Linked DNA regions of Homo sapiens: all the other regions are linked to region 1. The links are contacts of gene promoters, found by promoter capture Hi-C in human tissues and cell types (Jung and others, 2019). All regions are on one chromosome and are shown on one strand. The core of a region is centred on a gene start or on the middle of the fragment in contact, and the rest is flanking DNA. Distances in the headings are between cores, read along the strand shown. Region 1 holds the start of SLC5A11 (solute carrier family 5 member 11). Region 2 overlaps TNRC6A (trinucleotide repeat containing adaptor 6A). Region 3 overlaps ARHGAP17 (Rho GTPase activating protein 17).

Region 1 (2,700 bases), core at 157-2,656:
GAAGGAAGGAGAAAGGGAAAGAAAGGAAGAAATAAATAATAAAAGAGAGAGAAGAAAGAAAGAAAGAAAGAAAAAAGGGAAAAGAAAGAGAAACAGAGAGGTGGGAGGGAGGGAAGGAAGGAAAGAAGGAAGGAGAAAGAAAGGGAAAGAAAGGAATAAGGAAAGAAATAAAAGAAAGAAGGAAAGAAAGAAAGAACAAAGAAAAGAAAGGAAAAGAAAGAAAAAGAAAGAAAGAGAAAAAGAAAGAAAGGAAAGAAAAAGAAAATCACTGATATTGTGGCTGAGCTCATGGCCACAGGAATTGAGTCTTGGCTTGGCCACTCACTATCTGTATTACCTTGAGCAAGTTATTTAATGACCCTTAGACTCTGTCCATGAATTAGGGGGTGCTGTACCTACCTTACAGGGTTTCTGTGTCAGTTAGATGAGATCCAGGCGTAAAGTTCTCTGCACGTGTCTGACACGTACCAGTGAAGACTTGTATTTGCCTTGTAGTTAACAGCAGCTGCAGTTGTAGTAAATACATTCCTATAGCTTTTTAATGCTTATGTGGATACATTTACCTTCGTTATCTCTGGGTAACACACCTGTGGGGTGGGTCAGCCTGAGGTTCATATTCCCATTTGACAGATAAGGAACCTGAGACTCGGTGAGGCAAAATGTTTGGCTCAATGTCCCTGACCTTGGTTAAGTGGAAGAGCTGGGACCCACGTACGGTGCTGCTGGCTGCCGGCTGCTGGCTTCATACCACCATGCCCACCCCACAAACACACTCCATTGTCCTGGTGTATGACAAGCTTTCTCTGCAGAGAGGGCTGAGCTTCCCCTGCCCCACAGGTGACAGCTGGAGTCCTTCTGCCAGCACCTGTCCCCAGACCAACTTCCCAGTTTGGAGAGTGGCTACCTGTTTGGGGGCAGGGGGTGTCTTACCTTATTCCAGATGCAGGGCTCACCTGCCCTGGGGGCTGTCAGTGGCTTCTAAGGCACTAGGAGGTGGCGGTGGTTGTAAGGAGGGAGATACCCGGGATCCTCTCTCTTTGCAGCCAAGAGCTTCCGGAGACAGCAGTGACCCTTCCTCCTATATGCCCGCTGCTGAGAGAGCCTCCAAGCGGGTCAAACTCCAAACTCCAGCCTCAGCTGCAGCGGGGATTAAAGGAAGCGTGAATGATCTCCCCAGGGCAGAAGAGAGAACGGGGCCCAGCCCAGGACCCTTGAACTCTGAGCAGGTGGGGAAGGTGACATGTCCCACGCTCTGCCCACACCGTCCTCCACCAGGGTCCTCACCTGCGTGGGGACCCATGGCATGGAGGGGTTGGGGAGACGCTGGAGCCCAAGGCACCATCCTGCTTCACTCACCCAGTCTTCCACTGTCCCGCCTCCACGCTGGGGACAGGCAGGCTTGGGACGAGCTGGAGGAAGGGGAGGGGAGGAAAAATGCTGGCGGCGGATGGAGGGGACAGAGGCAAAGTGCCAGGAGGGACGTCCAGCCACAGCCCTCACCGCAGTGGCAGCAACAGGAACAGCAACCATTGCTTGTGCAACCCCTTTCCATATACTCTTCAGACAGAGGCATGGCAAAGAACAGGTGTCTGCCTGAAGTCGAGAGTTCGAGACCAGCCTGACCAACATGGAGAAACCCCATCTCTACTAAAAATACAAAGTTAGCCGGGTATGGTGGTGCATGCCTGTGGTCCCAGCTACTCGGGAGGCTGAGGCAGGAGAATCACTTGAATCCGGGAGGCGGAGGTTGTGGTGAGCCGAGATTACACCATTGCACTCCAGCCTGGGCAACAAGAGCGAAAATCAGTCTCAAAAAAAGAAGAAGAAGAAGAAGAAGAGGTGTCTGAGGCCCTGAAAAACCGTCAGGAGTGACCGAGCCATGGCCAGGCGCCCACATCGGGCCCAGGACATCAGCGGGGCATAGCGAAGATTTCTGCCAGATGCTCAAAGCATCCAAAACTTTATTTACTTTTTATTTCTGAGACAGGATCTCACTCTGTCACCCAGGCTGGAGTGCAGTGGTGGCATCACAGCTTGCTGCAGGCTCATCCTCCTGGGCTCAAGTGATCCTCCCACCACAGCCTCCCGAGTAGCTGGGACTACAGGCGTGCACCACCACACCCAGCTAATTTTTTCATTTTTTTGGTAGAGAGAGAATCTTGCTATGTTGCCCAGGCTGGTCTCCAACTCCTGGGTTTAAGTGATCCTCCCACCTTGGCCTCCCAAAGTGCTGGGATTACAGGGGTCAAACACTGTGCCAGGCCAAATACCAAAACATTTTAAAAATAGTTACTAGTATTTGCAAACCAAGAGGCTTGAAACATAATTCTAGAATACTCACTTTTCTAGAACAACCTGAAGATCTGGCCTCACCAGGCCCCCATGGCCACAGGACAGCTGCTGACTGGGGAGGAGTCGTGGCCTCCCCATCTCACTCCTTCACTGGGCCTGCCAGGCTCTGGGGGGCCCTCAGCTGAGGCCCCTGTCCTGGCACCGAGTAGCCAGAAATAATAGCAGTGATGAACACGTGCCAGGCTCTAAGGGCACAACATGCCTTTACTCACTTGGTCTTTCCAACAACCCTCGAAGTTAGGTCCTGTTATCTCTATCTTACTGACGAGGTAACAGAGGTAGAGGAGATGAGTCATCGGCCCAGGATCACCCGGGTTGTAAGTGACACAGCAAGATTTCAGCCCAGGC
Region 2 (2,700 bases), core at 148-2,647, 98 kb after region 1:
GAGGTGGAGCTTGCAGTGAGCTGAGATGGCACCACTGCATTCCAGCCTGGGCGACAGAGCAAGACTCTGTTTCAAAAAAAAGGAATATCAGGCAGAAAAAGAGAGATTTGGAGATATGAACTAGACATTTTGGAAGCTGCACATTATTTATCAAGGCTGGAATGCATATGGCAGTAGGGATGTTGAAGAAGATAAAAGGAGAAAGACAAGTGCCTAAGAAACTGGAAGGGGTTGTTGCTATAGGTGCGCTGCAATGAGATTAAACAAAATTTAAGTTGGCTTTGCTGATGGAACAGACTGAGAGGAGATGCAGACACCGAAAAATGAAATGAATGACATTATGCACAATTGATAAAAACTTAGTAAAGTATAGGACTACTAAAATCAGCTAAAAGGATAACTGGAAGAAGAGTATGATAACTGTTGCTATACTTCGCTGTCATTTTGTTACAAGCAGAAGTGTCATGTGGCTAATGGAGTAACATAACAGATTCCTGCCAACTGTGGCCATGACTCACTCTCTTTTGAATTCTGTGTGCAGGAGGTAGTAAGACTGAACAAGCTCACTCACACTACAATCCCAGGGAAGTCAAGGAGCAAGAAAGCCACAGCATATGAGAGCAGCAGAGTAAAATCAGTAAACAACGGCAACTAGGTTACACCACTGTCATGTTACCTACCCTGAGACATGCAGAAGTCAAGATTAAAAGCTGATTACTAGTTAAAAATACTTAATCTTCTTCAGCCTCTGTTTCTTCATGAAAAAACTGGGGGCAAATGACCATACATGTCAATGTCTTAATATTTTTATAAGAATTAGGACTGCTTACTTAGCACAAAGCTTATCTAGTAAGCACTCAATTGCCTAGCCATGAATCCAACTCACCAGTCCTCAGTGGCACCCAAAAGGCTGTCTTTACCCTTCTTGTGTCAAAATAGCACAGGTACTTATTCAGAAACATCTAGCACCTTCAGCATTTGTTCTTCATGTTCTGCTGTGAATTACAGACATGTCCTTTTCTGATCTTCTATGTCACTATAATTTTACTCCATGTAATGGTCTCTATCTGGAGTATTTTCTCCTTTCTCAAACTTCATTTTCAAGACTTTCTGATGAGGTTACTAGCAAGTGTTTTCCTGGCCAAAAATATCCCCTTTAGTACTTAAAAGATGTACCAGACATTTCTTCTCAAGGAAATATCACAGTATCAGCCGATACTGTAAGCACAGAGGGGAGTAAGTTTTGTTCTTCAACACTATCATCACAGCCAACCAGTCATGCTTTTTCCCATATCTCCTCCTTCAGAGAAAGCCAACTGGAAAAACAACAACAACACCTGTGCCCAAACACGTCAGCTTCCAGGAGTTAAATGTTCATAGAGACTCACTTAAGACATCTGACTATATCATTTACCACAACTATCAAGAGGAGCAAGGACTGATGGATTTGAAAGGCCTAAGTGGGCCACCCTGTTTGATGCACCTGCCACCAAGACAACACTCCAGTTAGCAATCATCCATGCCCTGAAGGCTACTTTGCAGGATACCTCACATCTGTAAGTTCTATGAATCTACCTCGTTGTCTGTAAAAACCAGACTCCCCTTTTATCAGAACTTGACTTATGTCCTGCATCTCATGTATAAAGGCTTTGAGGTGGCCTGTAAAAGTCAATGCCACTGAGGGAACTTTCTAGGAAAATGGAAATGTTTTCTAACTTGATTGGAGTGATAATTACAAGGGTGTATACATTTGTCAAATCATTCACCTACACACTCAATGTTTGAATTTTACTGTATGTAAATTGTATTTTAAAGTTGGTTTCATACATTGACTAGGGGAAATGCAATATCTCGATCTGAAAAAACAAATAGATCAAGATTAGGATTCCACACAACAAATCAAGCTAAGCTTCAAATTTTGCCCGTATCTTCCAGTAGCCACTACAAATGATTTACTTGTACCGTTCAAGAATGCGTTTCTGGCCGGGTATGGTGGCTCAGGCCTGTAATCCCAGGAGTCTGGGAGGCCAGGAGTTTGAGAACAGAATGGGCAACATAGTGAGAGTCTGTCTCTATTTCAAGGGCCTATCAAGGGAGCAGGGTACACCTTGGAGGTAGAATGCCCCTTCCTACTCTTGCGCCTCCTGACACTTGATGGTCAATTTTTCCTACATTCCCAGCCCTGAATATCATTAAAATTAATCCCTTCTGAAGGGTACTCTTGTACTTGCTATCAGAAGTATGTATGGACTAGCACTAAGCTTCTGGTGAGCAATTTGGAAGTATCTATTCACAATGAATTTTTAAATGTCACTATCTTATGATCCATCAATTCAAATCTAAGCCTCTGAAAAAGGAACCGTACAAAGATAGACACCGCAGCATAAAATCATAACCAAAAACCAATCAATAGGGAAAAGTTAAATCATCCTGTAATCACACCAAGGAATACTACACAGTAATTTTAAAGTGGGGCGGGGAGTAGATTTCCATAGTGTACAGAACCAGCTCCCAATAGAAACCTCAAGCACTAAACTTCTTATTTATTTATTTAGAGACGAAGTCTCACTCAGTTGCCCCGAGCTGGAATGAGGTGGTGCTGGTGTCAAACTCCTGGGCTCAAGCAATCCTCCTACCTCGGCCTACCAAAGTACTGGGATTACAGGGGTGAGCCACTGCACTCAGCTAGGAAACATGATT
Region 3 (2,700 bases), core at 15-2,514, 120 kb before region 1:
CAAGAAAGGGGTTCCATGGATTTCTCTCCAGTAGTAGAGTTTGTGTGAGACAAGATGTGGTTGGTTATGCTCAAAGCAGACCACTACTCCTAGCACTATGAGAGTCCTGTCATGGTGAGAAGCTAAAGTCTCCTTTTGCCTGCTTCCATTCTTAGAGAATAAGCTCAAGAGAATTTGGCATCCTGGGCAATGATACCCCTTCCAGGTAGAATCAATTGTGGGGAAGGATCTATCTCCACCAGGTCCTGCCTCCAGCTGTTGAGTATACACAGCTGGTTCTCAGATGCTGGTGACCCCTTTGTTTTGCAGGTGGAACCAAGCTCACAAATCCTCAGGAACCAACTTTCAGGGGCTTCCATCAAAAATAGATACTCTAAAGGAAGAGATGGATGAAGCTGGAAATAAAGTAGAACAGTGCAAGGTATGAGAATTCCTTGATAAATGTATCTTTTCGGTTTTTGCAAATGAGGGATGAAAGTTCAAATGTAAGTTACTTAATGTTTTAAATAATTTCTATCAGAATATTTTGAATGATTTTAAAGGTAGGTTTTATTTTCTTCTTCTCTAAGACTATATTATTTTATGATCAGAATAAAACATTTTAAATTTCAAATAGGATATTTTTAAAAACTTGACAAGATGTCTAAGCTTATTTAAAGATGAAGTCAGAAAAAAGGAAAGAAAACCATAGCAAAACATATAATAAAATTACAGCGATTAAAAATGCATAAGAAATACAAAAGTAAGAAAAAAGAAGTAAAACTGTATAAGAAGCATTAAAATAGATCAGTGAAATAGTATAGGTTTTCTGGAATGAATGCTATAATGTAAAATTTAATATACAGTAAATGGCTCATATGTCCTTGGAGAAGATAAGGATTACTTTTAAAATGTTGCTTGAACAATTGGTTTGTAATTTGGGAGAAATAGAGCTTTTTATCTCATAAATTACAGATTAATTAGATGGTCAAGTGATCTCATTCTCTCTGCATCCACCTGTGTAGATAGATGTTCATTCTGAATGTTATTTGAGGTGAAATTATTTGAAATGGTAAAGGAATAGGTCTTCGGGGAGTCTTGACAATCTAGAGTCTTAAGTCTGGATTGACTTAGACTTTTCCTGCTCTTATTTTTCATTGTTTTAAAAAAATTGTTTTTTTATTTCCTGCTAATATTAAGACTGTTATATTTTAGTTCATTTAGGTCATGACATACTTTGCTTTTCAAAATAGCAAACCTTGATCAGTTAACTGCAATTAAATGACTTGTTTAAAATAATATAGTGGGTAGAAATATAAGAAAAATATAAAAATAATATAGTGGGTAGAAATTAAAACTAAACTCACAAAGTTATGCCTTTGTTTTAAAAAGTTTTTATGTTTAAAAGATGATATTCAGATAAATGCTTCTACTAAAATAATGTCACATTGGCTTATTTGTGGTCTGAAGAGTTGTAGCTTTGTCAGTGTCATTTACCCAGCAGTCTTCTTAATATCTGGTCTAACCTAGATCCTGGCTATTGCCTACTTATTGCACACAAATTTGGGTAGAGGTTTAGGAAGTCATCATGGGCTGATGTCTGTTCTCTCAACTTCCACACTTGTCAGTATTTCAAGTGGTAAAAACTTAAGAAAATATTTTCTGCCTCCTTCTCTCTCTATGCATACCTTGTGGGTAATTTCCTCAGATCTATGTTCTGTTTCACTGATTCTCTCTTTAGCTATGTTTGATCTGCTACTCAAATAACACTGAGTTTTTAATTTCATTGACTATATTTTCCATTTCTGAAGTTCTAGTTATTCAAATCTTTTTGATACTACATTATTCTTTTCTAGTGTTTCTTTCTTTTAAGTCATTTTAAACATACTTATTTAATAATCTCTGTTAATTCTGTTTTCTGAAATTCTCTGTGAGAGTGGTAGGTGTCTGCTTGTGGTGGATTATTTCCTCATGTGTTTTGTAATTATTTGAACTCATTTTAAGAGGGGCTTTATCTGTGGGACTATCAGGGATTGGGAATGAGACTTCCCAGAGAGTATTACCAGTCCAGGTCCATTTTTAATTAAACTTAAATCAGTTTGGGGTTTCTGGGACCACATGTCAGTAAATTTAAACTTTAAACCCTCCTGAAAGCAGGCCTATGTTTTGTGAAATCTCTTGGCCAATGTTTCTCAGACCTAAAGCCCATTCCAAAACAGACATACTTCCCCATGATTTCCATGTGATGCTAAGTGCATTTGTTCTAATCTGTTGTTTCGTTGAGAGTACAGTTCTTCAGGAATCTTATCTTTATGCATGATATATGTGTACTTGTTTCTCCTTACTAGTCCCCAAGGCTTCAGACACCTTGGTCACCAAGACTGGCACAAATCTGCCCCAGGTCATCTCCAGCTTCCATTGATGCTTAGCATTCCGACTTTTTCTTTCTTTCTGCTTCTTTTTCTTCTTTCTCTCTTTGTGTGTGTGTGTGTATGGTGGGGTTGAGGGGAATCAAGGAATTTACTTTATTGCTTTCCCAGTTATTATAAAAGGATGTTCATTACTTCTAACTAGCATTTCCAAGTTTTTGTCATAAATGGGAGGCCCTTCACATTAATTTGTGTACCTTGATGCCAAAAACAGAAGTCATTACATTAAAAAAAAAACAAACTCTCTCTACATATATATTTTCCGGCATATAAGTTTTCATATATATATATA

Evidence for each region. Contacts are between HindIII fragments. The study calls those that stand out against the background at their distance.
Region 2: a contact is called between a fragment that was not itself captured here and the fragment with the promoter of SLC5A11 in region 1, in 2 of the 25 tissues and cell types used here (bladder and hippocampus).
Region 3: a contact is called between a fragment that was not itself captured here and the fragment with the promoter of SLC5A11 in region 1, in 5 of the 25 tissues and cell types used here (H1 embryonic stem cells, IMR-90 fibroblasts, dorsolateral prefrontal cortex and 2 more).

What each region holds. Positions count from the first base shown.
Region 1 is chr16:24,844,669-24,847,368 of GRCh38, reverse strand. It overlaps SLC5A11 (solute carrier family 5 member 11), which reads right to left and starts at 1,406. Exons shown (of 17, transcript NM_001352248.3): 1 at 1,357-1,406; 2 at 931-1,137. The HindIII fragment of the contact is 12,271 bases long and covers 82-2,700 here.
Region 2 is chr16:24,746,266-24,748,965 of GRCh38, reverse strand. All of the region lies in intron 2 of TNRC6A (trinucleotide repeat containing adaptor 6A), which reads right to left. Among named protein-coding and RNA genes, the nearest start is that of TNRC6A, 18 kb to the right of the region's middle. The HindIII fragment of the contact is 3,228 bases long and covers 1-2,700 here.
Region 3 is chr16:24,961,918-24,964,617 of GRCh38, reverse strand. It overlaps ARHGAP17 (Rho GTPase activating protein 17), which reads left to right. Exons shown (of 20, transcript NM_001006634.3): 7 at 310-421. Among named protein-coding and RNA genes, the nearest start is that of ARHGAP17, 52 kb to the left of the region's middle. The HindIII fragment of the contact is 8,561 bases long and covers 1-2,700 here.